Linked DNA regions of Homo sapiens: all the other regions are linked to region 2. The links are contacts of gene promoters, found by promoter capture Hi-C in human tissues and cell types (Jung and others, 2019). All regions are on one chromosome and are shown on one strand. Each heading gives the region's core, a stretch centred on a gene start or on the middle of the fragment in contact. The rest is flanking DNA. Distances are from core to core; before and after follow the strand shown.

The links. Contacts are between HindIII fragments. The study calls those that stand out against the background at their distance.
Region 1: a contact is called between a fragment that was not itself captured here and the fragment with the promoter of ZNF670 in region 2, in 3 of the 25 tissues and cell types used here (mesenchymal stem cells, mesendoderm cells and neural progenitor cells).
Region 3: a contact is called between a fragment that was not itself captured here and the fragment with the promoter of ZNF670 in region 2, in 2 of the 25 tissues and cell types used here (mesenchymal stem cells and pancreas).
Region 4: a contact is called between the fragment with the promoter of ZNF124 here and the fragment with the promoter of ZNF670 in region 2, in 1 of the 25 tissues and cell types used here (hippocampus).
Region 5: a fragment that was not itself captured here is called in contact with the fragment with the promoter of ZNF670 in region 2 in 2 of the 25 tissues and cell types used here (bladder and spleen).

What each region holds. Positions count from the first base shown.
Region 1 is chr1:246,982,955-246,985,654 of GRCh38, forward strand. ZNF695 (zinc finger protein 695) reads right to left here. Exons shown (of 4, transcript NM_020394.5): 4 at 2,369-2,700. The region is part of intron 4 of ZNF670-ZNF695 (ZNF670-ZNF695 readthrough (NMD candidate)); the gene reads right to left. Among named protein-coding and RNA genes, the nearest start is that of ZNF695, 24 kb to the right of the region's middle. The HindIII fragment of the contact is 4,237 bases long and covers 1-2,700 here.
Region 2 is chr1:247,077,362-247,080,061 of GRCh38, forward strand. ZNF670 (zinc finger protein 670) reads right to left here and starts at 1,450. Exons shown (of 4, transcript NM_033213.5): 1 at 1,233-1,450. The coding sequence starts at 1,235. It overlaps ZNF670-ZNF695 (ZNF670-ZNF695 readthrough (NMD candidate)), which reads right to left and starts at 1,450. Exons shown (of 7, transcript NR_037894.2): 1 at 1,233-1,450. RefSeq lists silencers at 1,313-1,626, 1,415-1,484. The HindIII fragment of the contact is 11,562 bases long and covers 1-2,700 here.
Region 3 is chr1:247,191,172-247,193,871 of GRCh38, forward strand. No RefSeq gene overlaps it. Among named protein-coding and RNA genes, the nearest start is that of MIR3916, 9.5 kb to the right of the region's middle. The HindIII fragment of the contact is 4,662 bases long and covers 1-2,700 here.
Region 4 is chr1:247,170,640-247,173,339 of GRCh38, forward strand. ZNF124 (zinc finger protein 124) reads right to left here and starts at 1,381. Exons shown (of 4, transcript NM_001297568.2): 1 at 1,209-1,381. The coding sequence starts at 1,238. The HindIII fragment of the contact is 9,791 bases long and covers 1-2,700 here.
Region 5 is chr1:247,146,519-247,149,218 of GRCh38, forward strand. It overlaps a transcript of ZNF124 not described here. Among named protein-coding and RNA genes, the nearest start is that of ZNF124, 24 kb to the right of the region's middle. The HindIII fragment of the contact is 7,827 bases long and covers 1-2,700 here.

The sequences.
Region 1 (2,700 bases), core at 189-2,688, 94 kb before region 2:
GCACTTTGGGAGGCCGAGGCAGGTGGATCATGAGGTCAGGAGATTGAGACCATCCTGGGGAACACGGTGAAACCCTGTCTCTACTGAAAATACAAAAAAATTAGCCGGGTGTGGTGGCGGGCGCCTGCAGTCTCAGCTACTTGGGAGGCTGAGGCAGAAGAATGGCATGAACCTGGGAGGCAGAGCTTGCAGTGAGCCGTGATCGCGCCACTACACTCCAGCCTGGGTGACAGAGCGAGACTCTGTCTCAAAAAAAAAAAAAAAGAATGTGTTGCTTGTAGCTGGGCCACATGGTGGCACATGCCTGTAATGCCAGCACTTTGGGAGGCTGAGGTAGGGGGGTTGCTTGAGCGCAGGAGCTTGAGATCAGCCTGGAAAACACAGTGAGACTTCATTTCTACAAAACAATAAAAAAAATTAGCTGGGCATGGTGGCATGTGGCTGTACTCCTAGCTACCCAGGGAGCTAAGATGAGAGGATAACCTGAGCCTGGGAGGTTGAGACTGCAGTAAGCTATGATCACAATGTCAGTTTTGTAAAATATAAATGACCTCAAACTCTCCAGTTAAAAGTCAATCTATTGGCTGGGCGCAGTGGCTCATGCCTGTAATCCCAGCACTTTGAGAGGCTGAGGTGGGTGGATCACCTCAGGTGAGGAGTTCAAGACCAGCCTGGCCAACATGATGAACCCCATCTTTACTAAAAATACAAAAATTAGCCAGGCATGGTGGTGCGTGCCTGTAATCGCAGCTACTTGGCAGACCAAGGCAAGAGACTTGATTGAACCCAGGAGGTGGAAGTTGCAGTGAGCCAAGATTGCACCACTGCACTCCAGCCTGGGTGACAGGGTGAGACTCAGTCTCAAAACAAACAAACAAACAAACAAAAATCTATCATCACATTAAAAAATTTCAAATTTCCAGGCCAGGTGTGGCTCATACCTATAATCCCAGCACTTTAGGAGGCCAAGGCAGGTCAGTCACTAGAGCTTAGGAGTTCAAGACAAGCCTGGGAACATGGTAAAACCTCATCTCTACTAAAAAAAGAATTAGCTAGGAGTGGGGGTGCACACTTCTAGTCCCAGCTACTCAGGGGGCTGAGGTGGGATGATTGCTTGAGTCTGGGAGGCAGAGGTTGCAGTAATCCGAGATTACACCAGTGCACACCAGCCTGGGTGACACAGTGAGACCATGTCTCCAAAAAAAAAAAAAAAAAAGAAGAAGAAAAAGAGAAAGTCCAAATTTCCTGTTAGAATGTACAAAGTACTATATAAGATGACATATTGTGTGGAGAACAGTGAGAAAGTGTAGCCATAACACAGGTTTTAAAAAAAAAAAAAAAAAAAAGGAGGAGAGCTGGAATGCATAAGTAGTTGAGAAGAAAGAAAAAGAGACCACAAAAAAACAGAGATAATTTGGAAATAAAAGCAGAATTCCTCTTCAGAGAGAGTCAGTTGTGCAGCCTGGGTAGAGAAGTCCTTTCTCTGCATGCAGAATCAATGCCAGGTCTTCATCCTGGATATTTCCAATCTCTTACCTGGAGCCACAACTTCACTCCAAAAAGAATATTTATTGTTAATTATGGAACATCTACTACACATCTGGCACTGCGTTATGTTTCTTCACTTCATTTATATGCCAAATAGCCCTATGACTTATAAAGCCTCCAAAGTGTTTATCTGAACAAATTGCCCAATAGAGTCAATAAACTCAATTACTCAATTAAGTGAAAGAAACAATAACAAAAAAAGTTGGCTCGAATAGTGTTCTCTAATAATGGAAAAATGGAAATGTACTAATTAAGTACAATGAAAATTAATACACTCACTGTGGAATTATTCACATCTTCAGATTATTTTTTAAGCACCAATAAGTTTCATAAAATCATTATTATAATCCCTGAGAAGATCACATAAGAAATTCTTCATGAATTTTGGAACAAGAAAATTATACGTTAGCTCTAGCATGAGCAACATAAAAGTAAAAACAGGAATTTCATGTGGAAATTCTGCAAAATAAGATTTTAGAGAAATGCCTTCAATACAAAGCAGAGAAAACAGATTTGCCTTCGACATTTTTGAGGTTTCTAGTTTGCTAATAAATTATCCATACTTTTGAAATTATGTTTGGTTCCAACATTTTTCTCTTATTCTGAAAACAGGTATGCACTTACTTCAAACACATTACTTGCTTCATAACTGTCTTACACCTAACATTTATCCTTAGAGTAGTATATTTATGTATTTATCTCCATGTAAACCAAAACTAAAAGCATGTATATGTTTTGCAGGCCAGAAAAGCCACATGTTAAAAGGAAAATGTAAATAAAATTTTGTGAATAGTCCTTCAAGATTCAGAAATACACGGTCTTTGATTATAATCCTATATAGGCTTTATTATAGCCTTAATAATGACACTGTCATTACAAAAAGAGCAAACAGAATGAAGGTGTAACGTGTGGGAACAATATTTTTCAAATTATTTGAAGTTTAATGCCACTGGGAGAAGGGATCATTAGAGATACTATTCCACCATGTTACCCACTATTGTATTGTTACCATTTGTTACCTACAACCGTAACTAAGGTGAGATAGGTTAACGTTGGTGGTAGGATACGCATCACTTAATGTACAACGGTCCAAAGACATTAAAACAATGTCTTATTAAAACAAATTAAGTTCAAACAGTCTAAAAAGAGCAT
Region 2 (2,700 bases), core at 200-2,699:
TAAACAGAGGACCAAGAAAAGATATAAGGGTGGCTGAGGACATATCACCCTCTAAAGTTTCCAAAAGGGAACTTCACCCCAAAGATACTCTGGTAAGATGTGCACACTCAAAAAAGATAAAATTAGGAGATGCACAAAGACTTTTTTTTTCTACAATTAACTGTCAGGTGATTATTTTCTGCTTTCCACTCATGTGTAATGTTCAGAAATATTTTAAGAGTGAAAACAAATATTTTCAGAACGACTCACTACTCTGAAAAAAATAACACACTTCATCTGTATGAAATGTACAATAAAAGACAAATACTTGATAATGTTGCATTTGAATATAGGAAAAGAATTGGAAATTTAGGGTTTTACTACAAGCCCCAGAAGAGTTAGGCTGTGGGAACAGGGTCGTTGATGTGAGATCCTGTTGCCATACACTTAGAAATGTGGAGTGTTATGTGAAAATAATTAAACACAGGCACTAGGGAGACTGAGGTGGGGGGATCGCTTGAGCCCGAGTCCAAGACTCCATCATACACATGTACATACACACATGAATGAATAAACAACCAACCAAAACGTAACTCATGCTTGTCTTGTAAATTAATAACTTAAAGGGAAACAAAACAGCCTTAAACAACCACGAACCCACCAATTAACCTCTGGTTACATAACCAGGAGATATCTGGCTGCACAGTCTATATGGGGTGACTACATAACTGTACACGATCAATTATTTAATTGGGTTTGCTTCCTCGGGTTCCTTACAAAAAACCCTTTCCTTCCCCAAACCACAAACCACGCTGGTGGCTTCCTAACTCACGACTCTCTGCTCAAATAAACTCCTTAATATTTTAACGGCGCCTCAGTTTTCTTTCTAACAGGAGAAAGGAGGATTTGGAGACTTCACAGACCACAGCTCCTCCCACGCAGGAACCCCGAACCCCAAGTCGGGACTCTCCCCTGAGGACCCTCCCGTCGGCACCGCACGATCCGAGGGAGATGCGGGTCTACAGAGGCAGAGCTGCCCAGAAAGGGTTCCGGGCCTGGCCGAAGCGGCGGGGCAGGGACAAGCCAGGCGGCCCGGGGTCTGGCTGCGGGTCCAGCCCCGCATCCTGTGCCACTAAGGCCGCGAGGCGCCGGCGGAAACTCGGGTCGGCACCGCGGGGAGGTCCGGGTTCGCCACAACCGCTTCCTGGCGGTTCCCTTTTCCCCTTCCCGAGACACCTGGCCGGCACACTCACCATTTCCCAGTCTCCGGTGTCTGGGGTCCTCCCTAAGGACCTTCCGGGACCTGCAGGTCCCAGAGCAACAGAAGCTGCCGCGGGACCACTTGGACCTCCCAGGGATAAGGGGAAGGAGCAGCGGAGACGCACCGAGCTCGCCACATTCGCGCTGCCCAACACAAAAGCCGCGCCAGGTCCCGGAAGCTGCTCCCTCCTTTCGCGGCGCGCTTGAGAGTACAGTCCCCTTCCCAGCGCCCGATTGGACAGGGCCTTAGGCCCCGCCCCTTCAGTCCTGAGTGACGGGAGATGCAATCAGACACGGCGCTGAGTGAGGCCAGGTTCTTTCCCTGCAGTCCTTTTCTAAGGCATGGATTCTGCCCTGTGCTGAGACCTGGCGCCCCCCGGGGGACTTTCCCATTCAAGCTCATACACAGGATTATGTCCATTTATGAGTAATATTTGTGATATTTACAATTGGAAACACTATGATGACAATTATTCTAAAATTTCAGATTTCACAACCTTCCTGGCCTCTGGTCTTTTGAGGAGGCAGCCTGAATTTTTTTTTTTTTCTTGCTTCTAGTGGGATTAGAGGCAGCTTGAATTTTGAAAAGACAATGTCCTCTCAGGTAGCAACGCCCCATAGAAATAAAATGTGAGCCGCGTGTGTTCCAGTAGCAATAGAAAAGAAAACAACACGTGAAATTGATTACAATGATTTATTTAACCAAATATATCCAAAAATATTGTTTCAATATATGATCGATGTTAAGCTCGCGCCTAATTGAAGAGACTACCCAAACAGGTTAAGTGTGAGCAGCAAGGCTAGTTTACTCACTCGGGTGCGAGCGGGCTGAGTCCGAAAAGAGGGTCAGCGGAGGGTCGTGGGATTGGAGTTAGTTTTATAGGTGAGGGGTAAGCAGTGGAAAGTTACAGTCAGGGGCCGTTTATTACCGGCGGGGGAAGAATGTCACAAAGTACATTGTCACAAGAGGGAGGGGTCACAGTGTCACTAGGCTGATTGATCAGTTAGGGTAGTGCACGTCACAACGGTAAAATGCTGCAAGGTTGGCTAATCAGCTAAGACAGAAACTAGCCGTTTTTCTTCCTTTGTGGTTTTCCTGTTGTCCCAGACTTTCTGGCTCCAGGACCTTCTGGATGTACACGTGTGGGTCACAGGGATCACAATGGCTTGACCATGGCGCAGCCTGCTCAGACGGCCTTACAATCGATATATTATTAATGAAAAATCACTCTATATATTAAGCTTCCAGCATGTTTCAATTCAGCCTGCACATTTGGATACACGTGTCTGGTTTTACCACTTTATTTTAAGGTTGTTCGGGAATGTCTGCCTGTTCCTTTCATGTAACTGTTCATTATTTATTGATTACTATTTCTTAATTTCACTTATCTCAGTGAGAGTTGCCAAATAGTGGTTTTCTAATTATTTTCTCTACAGGTATTAGTTCTCATTCTTCTATTA
Region 3 (2,700 bases), core at 148-2,647, 110 kb after region 2:
ATACTGAACAAAATGCCTTTGTGAGAACTCTAGAAACCATATTAAAAGCCATAGACAAGGGGAAGGAAAGCTTGTTACATTTACCCACCACAACTCTTTCTTCTCCTAAACACAGCATAATGACTTCAGGAATAAACTCCCAACTCCTAGCTTCTCCTTCAATAGAGACAGTAGTGGCACATATGCCCATACTTTTGATGGAATTTCCAAAGACTAGTTTCTGTCTCCCATGACACAAAGTGCTGAAAGGAATAGTGGTAGAATAGAACCAACCTTTAATTCAAAGGTTGGTTCTGCTGAGACCAAAGGTAAATAATTGTTATAGCAGCAGAGAGGCTGCAGTACTACAGACAGACAACAGATTTAGCAAATAATTGATTAGAGAAGAAGAAAGAAAGAAGAAACAAGGGTAAACCTCTTTAACTGGAAATTAAACACAAAATTCCAGAGAACATACATCCTGAGAATAGGTTTGAGAGGCTCATGGAAACCCTAGCCCAAGTCACTTGGTATCAGATTATCCAGGACAAAGCCATTTTATAAAGATTTTGACAGATGGCTTTTAGTGCCCAAATCTCAACCAAAGATTGCAACATATACATTAGGGTAACATGGCTCAATCAAAAAAAAAATAAATAAATAAATAAATAAATAAATAAATAAATAAATAAATATCCAGAAATCAACCCTAAAGAAATGGAGATGTATAAGTTACCTGAAAAATCTGAGATAACCATTTGAATAATGCCCAATGAGTAAAACAGGAAAACAGACATGAAATTAAGAAAATGAGAAACCCTGACAAATTCTCAAATGTAAAAAAAAAAAATTAAGAAGCTCAACACATTTCAAATAGGATAAACACAAACAGACACATAACAAGATACATTATAAGCAGTTTCAAAAAATTACAGATGAGAAGAGAATCTCAAAAACAGAAAGGGAAAAGCAATGTGTCATCTATAAGCATGCTTCTATGAGATTACCAGAGCATAGTTGTTTCATATACCATCATTCTAGTACTATAGAATTTTATTTTTGTGTATGTGATCACGGGGCACACAGAGAAAATAGGAAACCTGCCCTACTTGAAGAAACAAATCTCCAGAAACTGACCCTTAAAAAAGGGAGATTTTTGCATTTTTTTGACAAAGAATTTAAAGTAATCATCTTAAACATGTTCAATGACCAAAAGTAGAACACATATAGATAACTCTACAAAATCAGGTTGGGCATGGTGACAAGAGCATTATGGTTTACATAAAGTAAAATACTCTCCTTGTTGTTCATTTAAAAATAAATCCTGGCTATGTACAGAAGCTCACACCTGGAATTCCAGCATTTTGGAAGGCTGAGGTGGGAGAACTGCTTGAGACCGAGTTCAAGACCAGCTTGAGTAACACGGTGAGACTGTCTCTACAATTTTTTTTTTTAAATTAGCCAGGCATGGTGGTATATGCCTATAGTCCCAGCTACTTAGAAGGCTGAGGTGGAAGGATCACTTGAGCTGAGGAGTTTGAAGCTACAGTGAGCTATGATCATACCGCTACACACCACCAGCCTGGATGAGAGAGTGAAACCCTGTTTATAAAAAAAAAAAAAACAAAAAAAAAAAAACAGAAAACCATGCATGAGGAAAATAATACATCAACAAAGAGATTTTAAAAAAAAAAAACCTATAAAAAAGAACCCAACTAAGCTTGGTGTGGTGGCTCACGCCTGTAATCCCAGCACTTTGGGAGGTTGAGGCAGGTGAATTACGAGGTCAGGAGGTCGAGACCAGCCTGGCCAACATGGTGAAACCCCGTCTCTACTAAAAATACAAAAAATTAGCCGGGCGTAATGGCGGGTACCTGTAATCTCAGCTACTCAGGAGGATGAGGCAGGAGAATTGCTTGAACCTGGGATGCAGAGGTTGCAGTGAGCCAAGATCACTCCACTGCACTCCAGCCTGGGCAACAGAGCAAGACTCTGCCCCCAACAAAAAAAAAAAAAAAAAAAAAAAAAAAAAACCCAACTAAAATTGTTGAGCTGGAAAATACACTGTGTTGAAAAATTAACTGAAGAGCCAAAACAGCAGACTTAATGAGGCAGAAAAAACATCAGCAAATTGAAGACATATCATTTATAAATATTGAGTTGTGGAAGCAAAATTTTAAAAATGGAAAACAATGAAGATGGAATATTGGACTTAATAGAAACCATTCAGTAGACCAATATATCCATAAAAAGAGACTTAGAAGATATAGGTGAAAAGCGGTAAGTTATTTAAAAAAAAAAAAAGGGGAGGGGGGCTGAGAACTTCTAAACTTTCAATGAGATAAAACCAAAATATTACTAAGGATACTTGATGTAAAAAAAATTTACTTTCAAAAATAAGTGAAAAATAGACTTCCAAGATAAACAAAAGCTGAGAATGTTTGCTGCTACTAGTACAGTCCTACAAGAAATGATAAAAGCAGTCCATTATGTTGAACAATAAAATGATGCTGGAGAACATCATAAATTCATATGAAAATATAAAGCTGTTAAAGGTAAATATATACACAGATATAGACTTGTCCAATGTTACATAAAACCAAAAACTCTGCAGAATGTGAAAAACAACGTAAATCTCTGTAAATCTATTAATAAATGCACAATATAAAATGATATAATTTTTGACATTAATATCAAATGGGGGGATATAAAGATAAATAG
Region 4 (2,700 bases), core at 131-2,630, 93 kb after region 2:
CTCCCCAAGTGAGCAATTCCTGTCCCTTTTAAGGGCTTACAACTCTAAGGGGGTCCACGTGAGAGGGTCGTGATCGATTGACCAAGCAGGGGGTACATAACTGGGGGCTGCATGCACCGGCAATCAGAACGGAACAGAACAGGACAGGGATTTTCACAGTGCTTTTCCATACAATGTCTGGAATCTATAGATAACACAACCGGTCAGGTCAAGGGTCAATCTGTAACCAGGCCCAGGACGCGGCGCCGGGCTGTCTGCCTGTGGATTTCATTTCTGCCTTTTAGTTTTTACTTCTTCTTTCTTTGGAGGCAGAAATTGGGCATAAGACAATATGAGGGGTGGTCTCCTCCCTTAAGTGATGATGGTGCCCTGAGTTCCTCACCAAGAAAACCTAAAGGTACTTCATGCCTTTCTTGTAATTAACTTGAAGGGAAAGAAAACTTAACCCCAAATCAGCAATTTACCTCTGATTACATAACCAGGAACCATCCACCTAAATAATCCGAATAACAGAACTACATAATTATAACCAATCAGTTATTAAATTGGGGTTGCTTTGGGCTGGGCGGGGTAATCCCAGCACTTCGGGAGGTTGAGACCAGAAGTTCAAGACCAGCCTGGGCAACACAGGGAGACCCCCCCCCCGCCCCACCCGATCATTAAAATAAAAAATAAATAAATTTGGTTTGTTTCCTTACACACTTTACAGAAGCCTTTCCATCAAGACCGTCCGGTGGCCCACAAACCAAAAACCGTGGCTGGGTGCTCCCCTACTCATGAATCGCTGTTTGCTCAAACTCTGTAACGCTTTAATTAAACCTCAGTTTAATTTTTAACAGGATTAAGGAGGGACTGGAAACGCCAGTGGCCACAGCTCCTCGCAGGCGCGAGCCCGCACACCGCGCTGGGCCTCTCCCCTGAGGCGCCTCGGGTCTCACTGCAGGATCCCGAGGAGCCGCGGGGCTGCGGGCGCGGGCCGGGGAGGGAAGCTGCTTCGGGCAGGACGGAAGTCGCGGTGCAGAGACGGGACCGGAGCCCGGGGTGCCGCTGCCCGCCCAGCTCTGCCGGGCGCCAGAAAGGACCGAGGGCCGCGCCGCGCCGCGCCAGCAGGGACCCGGGTCCGCCCTCGGGAGCCGACCGCTGGGAGCCCGGGGCCCGGGGCCGCCACAGCCCCTTCCCTTCTCCAGACCCCCGGCGGCGCAACTCACCATTTCCCAGCTTCCGGGGTGTCCCGACATCCTCCCTGCGAATCCCCCAGTACATGCAGGTCACAGGAGGGCCCCGGCTGCGGCAGAGCCTCCTGAACCGCCGAGAGTGAAGGAGAAGCGCAGGGCTACTGACCGAGACACGCACGTGCGGGCACGAGAGACAAAGGCCGGGCACACCCGGAAGCCGCCTCGGGTTTTCTAGCGGAGCGCCGGATTAGGCAGTCCCCGCCCCGGTGCCCCTGATTGGGTAGGGCCTCAGGCCCCGCCCCCTCAGACTCTTAGTGACAGGTGACAGCTCCCGCGCGTGTCTGAATGAGGCAGCGTTCTGGCTACAGCTCTTCTCCAAGAGGGTTTCCTCTCTGGGTTGGGACCCAGCCTTGCCTAGGGGACATTCATTTATATACACTTAACCTTGTATACAATGTTACATTCATTTGTGAATAATATATATGATATTTAAAATAGGAAACAATATAATAATAATTCTTTTAAAATTTCAGACTTATTAACCTTCATGGCCTCTGGTCTTCTGAGGAAGCAGTCTGAGGAGCCCGAGTTTTGAAAAGGGAAGCAATCCTCCAAGGCTGCGATTTCCACAGAAATCACATGTGAGCCACAGGTGTCATTTTAAAATTTCTAGTAGCAACAGAAACGAGGAATAAACAGGTAAAATTGATTGCAATACTTTATTTAACTCAATATATACAAAATATTATAATTTAAATATATGATAAATATAATATTAATGAAGTATTTTTTGTTGTTCTGTTTTTTGGTACTAAATCTTTCAAAGTCACTCTGCGTTTTAAACTTCCAGCATGTACCGATTCAGACCAGCCACATTCTAGGTGCTAAGTAGACCCCTGTGGGCAATGACTGTCACACTGAAGTGCAGTTTTGAGGGCTCTGGTTCCCCTGACCTCAGGGAGTGAAGGGCCCGAACCCCTCTTTTCTGCTAGAGGTGAGGGAATGCCCTCCTTCTGCTAACATCTCTCCTCAGGCCCAAGGGTGGCAGAGACAGTGCCCAGAGAGAGAAGTGGGCTGCAATAAAGAAGTATCTAGAGGGAGTCTACTATTTCCCACCTGCTCTTGCCAGGGGCCCAGCCTCTTCTATAGATAAGACAGTGAAAAAAAGATGAGGGGCCCCAGGAGAAGAAAACCCATGTCTTCAGATTTGTCCACAGCCTTAACCTCAGGACTTTAGATGTAGAGGGAATACATTAAAGACAAACTTCTCATTTTGCAATTTGGCTTTGGCCCTAATGGTCAGGCTGTGGTTTTCTGTTTCCTCCTGTGGTGTGGAATTTAAGTGTGTGAGTTTAAGCACAAATCACATGCATGTCTACGTGCACTTCTGTATGGCTCAACACCGTCTAACCAGAAATCCAACTTTACATAAAGGGAAAAGGAAATCAGTACATACAGGGTGCCTTGTGTTTGCCTGGTAAATTGCAATCAACATGTCATTGAATCCTGGCATCCTGTCTGCACT
Region 5 (2,700 bases), core at 166-2,665, 69 kb after region 2:
GGTGTCAGGGTGGCTATGAGTCAGACACCCCAAAGAATATCTTTAGGTGCAGGCTCTTTTTGTCAAAGGCCTCAAATGGCAAAGTGATCAAGTTTTTCTTGACTGCTGGAAGAATTAAGCAATGAAAATATGTCCACTTAGCTTCACTAAACCTTATTTGGAAAGCAGAACTCTGGGTTTTTTTCAGGTCTTCTTGTTATTGAGAAAACAGTGCTTACTATCCAATGTGCTAAGAGCCAATACATTGAGTTGTCACTGGATTTTTGTTTTTGAGACAAGCTTTATGTTGAAAGTTCACTCCCAAAGAGACAGGAGTCCCAAGCCCGAATCTGTCTCCCTCTGCTGGCATCAAGGCAGAATTTCTACTAGAACAGGTACCGGGGGGTAGCTTCTGAGGTTAGGAGGTGACTAGCGGATGATAATGGGAGGTCTGGAATGTCCATGGGCATGCCCAGTTATCTCTTCATGCTTCCTCATGGGTCATATGTGCAAATTTGGGGGGAGTTAGTAGGAAACATAGTGGAAATTCAGGCTATGATGTCAGCAAGCTCATTCTGTGCAGAGTCCCATTGGTTCTATTGGTTTAAACCAATTTCAGCTAATTACTTTTATCTCGTAAGTGGAGGGAATTTCAGTGTTTTAGCAAGTTTTTTTTTTTTTTAATTTGCCATCCTGTAAACTCAAGGATTTCTGTTAGTCATTGGCTTAACTTTTTTTTTTTTTTTTGAGTCGGGGTCTTGCTCTGTTGCCCAGGCTGGAGTCCAGTGGCACGATCTCAGCCCACTGCAACCTCCGCTTCCTGGGTTCAAGCCATTCTCCTGCCTCAGCCTCCAGAGTAGCTGGGATTACAGGCATGCACCACCATGCCTGGCTAATTTTTGTATTTTTATTAGAGATGGGGTTTCACCATATTGGCCAGGCTGGTCTCGAACTCCTGACCTCGTGATCCACACGGCTCGGCCTCCCAAAGTGCTGAGATTACAGGCGTGAGCCACTGCGCCTGGCTGCTTCTTTAACTTTTTGAAGCACAGTCTCAATTATCAGCTACATCTACTAGCAGAGAGATATTACTATTCTAGACAGGAGCACTGAGACAGACACCTCTGTCTTTGCAGCTAACAGCTCATGCAGGGTGAACATTTTGCATATCAGAGTGTAAAGGTTCTCATGATAAAGACTGACCTGCCCTCTGTGGCAAATGGAGAATTCTGTCTCTCTCACACTCTTCTACCTGTCTCCCACCCAGACTGGAATAATCCCCTCCGGCACTTAGGGGACAGGGAAGCACAAACACATACAACAAAATTCTAACTGTAAATTTTGGTGTAGAAACACAAGAAGACATTGAGTTAGCCCCAAAGGCCCCACCTCCATTGTTTTGTGACATTTCTGCTTTCATGGTGAACCCTGCCCAAGCCCTGTCAGTGAAGTTTTGGTATCAGCGAGTACATAGAGAGAGAGAGATTCTCTGCTTATAAGCAAGGCACCAACACCCACATTTCCTTTTAGTTTCTAGCAGCCTGTTGACTGCTTTCAGCAAAACCACAAGAACTTACAGTATTTTCTATTTATCCAAAGTGCTCTATCAGCTTTGTGGACTCCTCATTCTTTCCTACTTTGGCTAGGAGAATGAACATATGAGCACATTTAGACTGCTCCTTTCAATTCTCCCTCTCACACAACAACCTCGCTAACAGGTTGGCGAGTGGAGGGATCTTACTCTTACTCAACTCTCATTTGGGTAAGAGAATTTGCTACTTGTTCCAGGAAGCCTTCTCATAAGCCCTGGCCAGGTCTGTGAAGAATCTTTCTACTTTCCTCTTATACCAGGTTATAAGGTTATAGATTTATCAGAATCAATCGCATCATCACCCAAGCTGTCAAAAATGTGAACATTCGTGGATTTTTTTCTATTTGCAAGCCAAAAAATGAAGACTGTCAACTTCATGGATATTAGAAGAAGGCATGAGATTCCTAGGCCTGATGAAAAATATTTGATGGTTCATCACACAAATGGAAGCAAGAGCTCCATATCTGTATCTGTTCCCCACGTCCACTCCAAGTGACAGGGATGATCAAAGAGACCCAACTGGATGCTTTCTGCTCAGTAGATTTTGATCACAGCTGAGGAATCTCAAGGTTAAGAAATCCCAGTGCTTTGGCAGGGCACGGTGGCTCACGCCTGTAATCCCAGCACTTTTGGAGGCCGAGGCGGGCAGATCACGAGGTCAGGAGATTGAGACCATCCTGGCTAACACGGTGAAACCCCGTCTCTACTAAAAATACAAAAAAAAAAAGAAAATTAGCCAGGTGTGGTGGCGGGTACCTGTAGGCCCAGCTACTCTGGAGGCTGAGGCAGGAGAATGGCGTGAACCCAGGAGGTGGAGCTTGCAGTGAGCCGAAATTGTGCCACTGCACTCCAGCCTGGGTGACAGAGTGAGACTCCGTCTCAAAAAAAAGAAAAAAAAAACAAATCCCAGTGCTTTAACATGTGTTTCAAAGAAAACCTTCCAACCACTGCCTCAGAGAAAGGCATAATCTTTATTAAATTGTCCAGGTATTTATTTGGCCTTTGACCTGAAGATACACATCCTTCAAGTCTGTTTCTTTCATTTAAAAAAATCCTGAAAAAGACAGCCCAGAAGAAACGCTTATACAAGATGTGGGAAAATGAAGTGAGAGATCCATGAAGAATTGTCT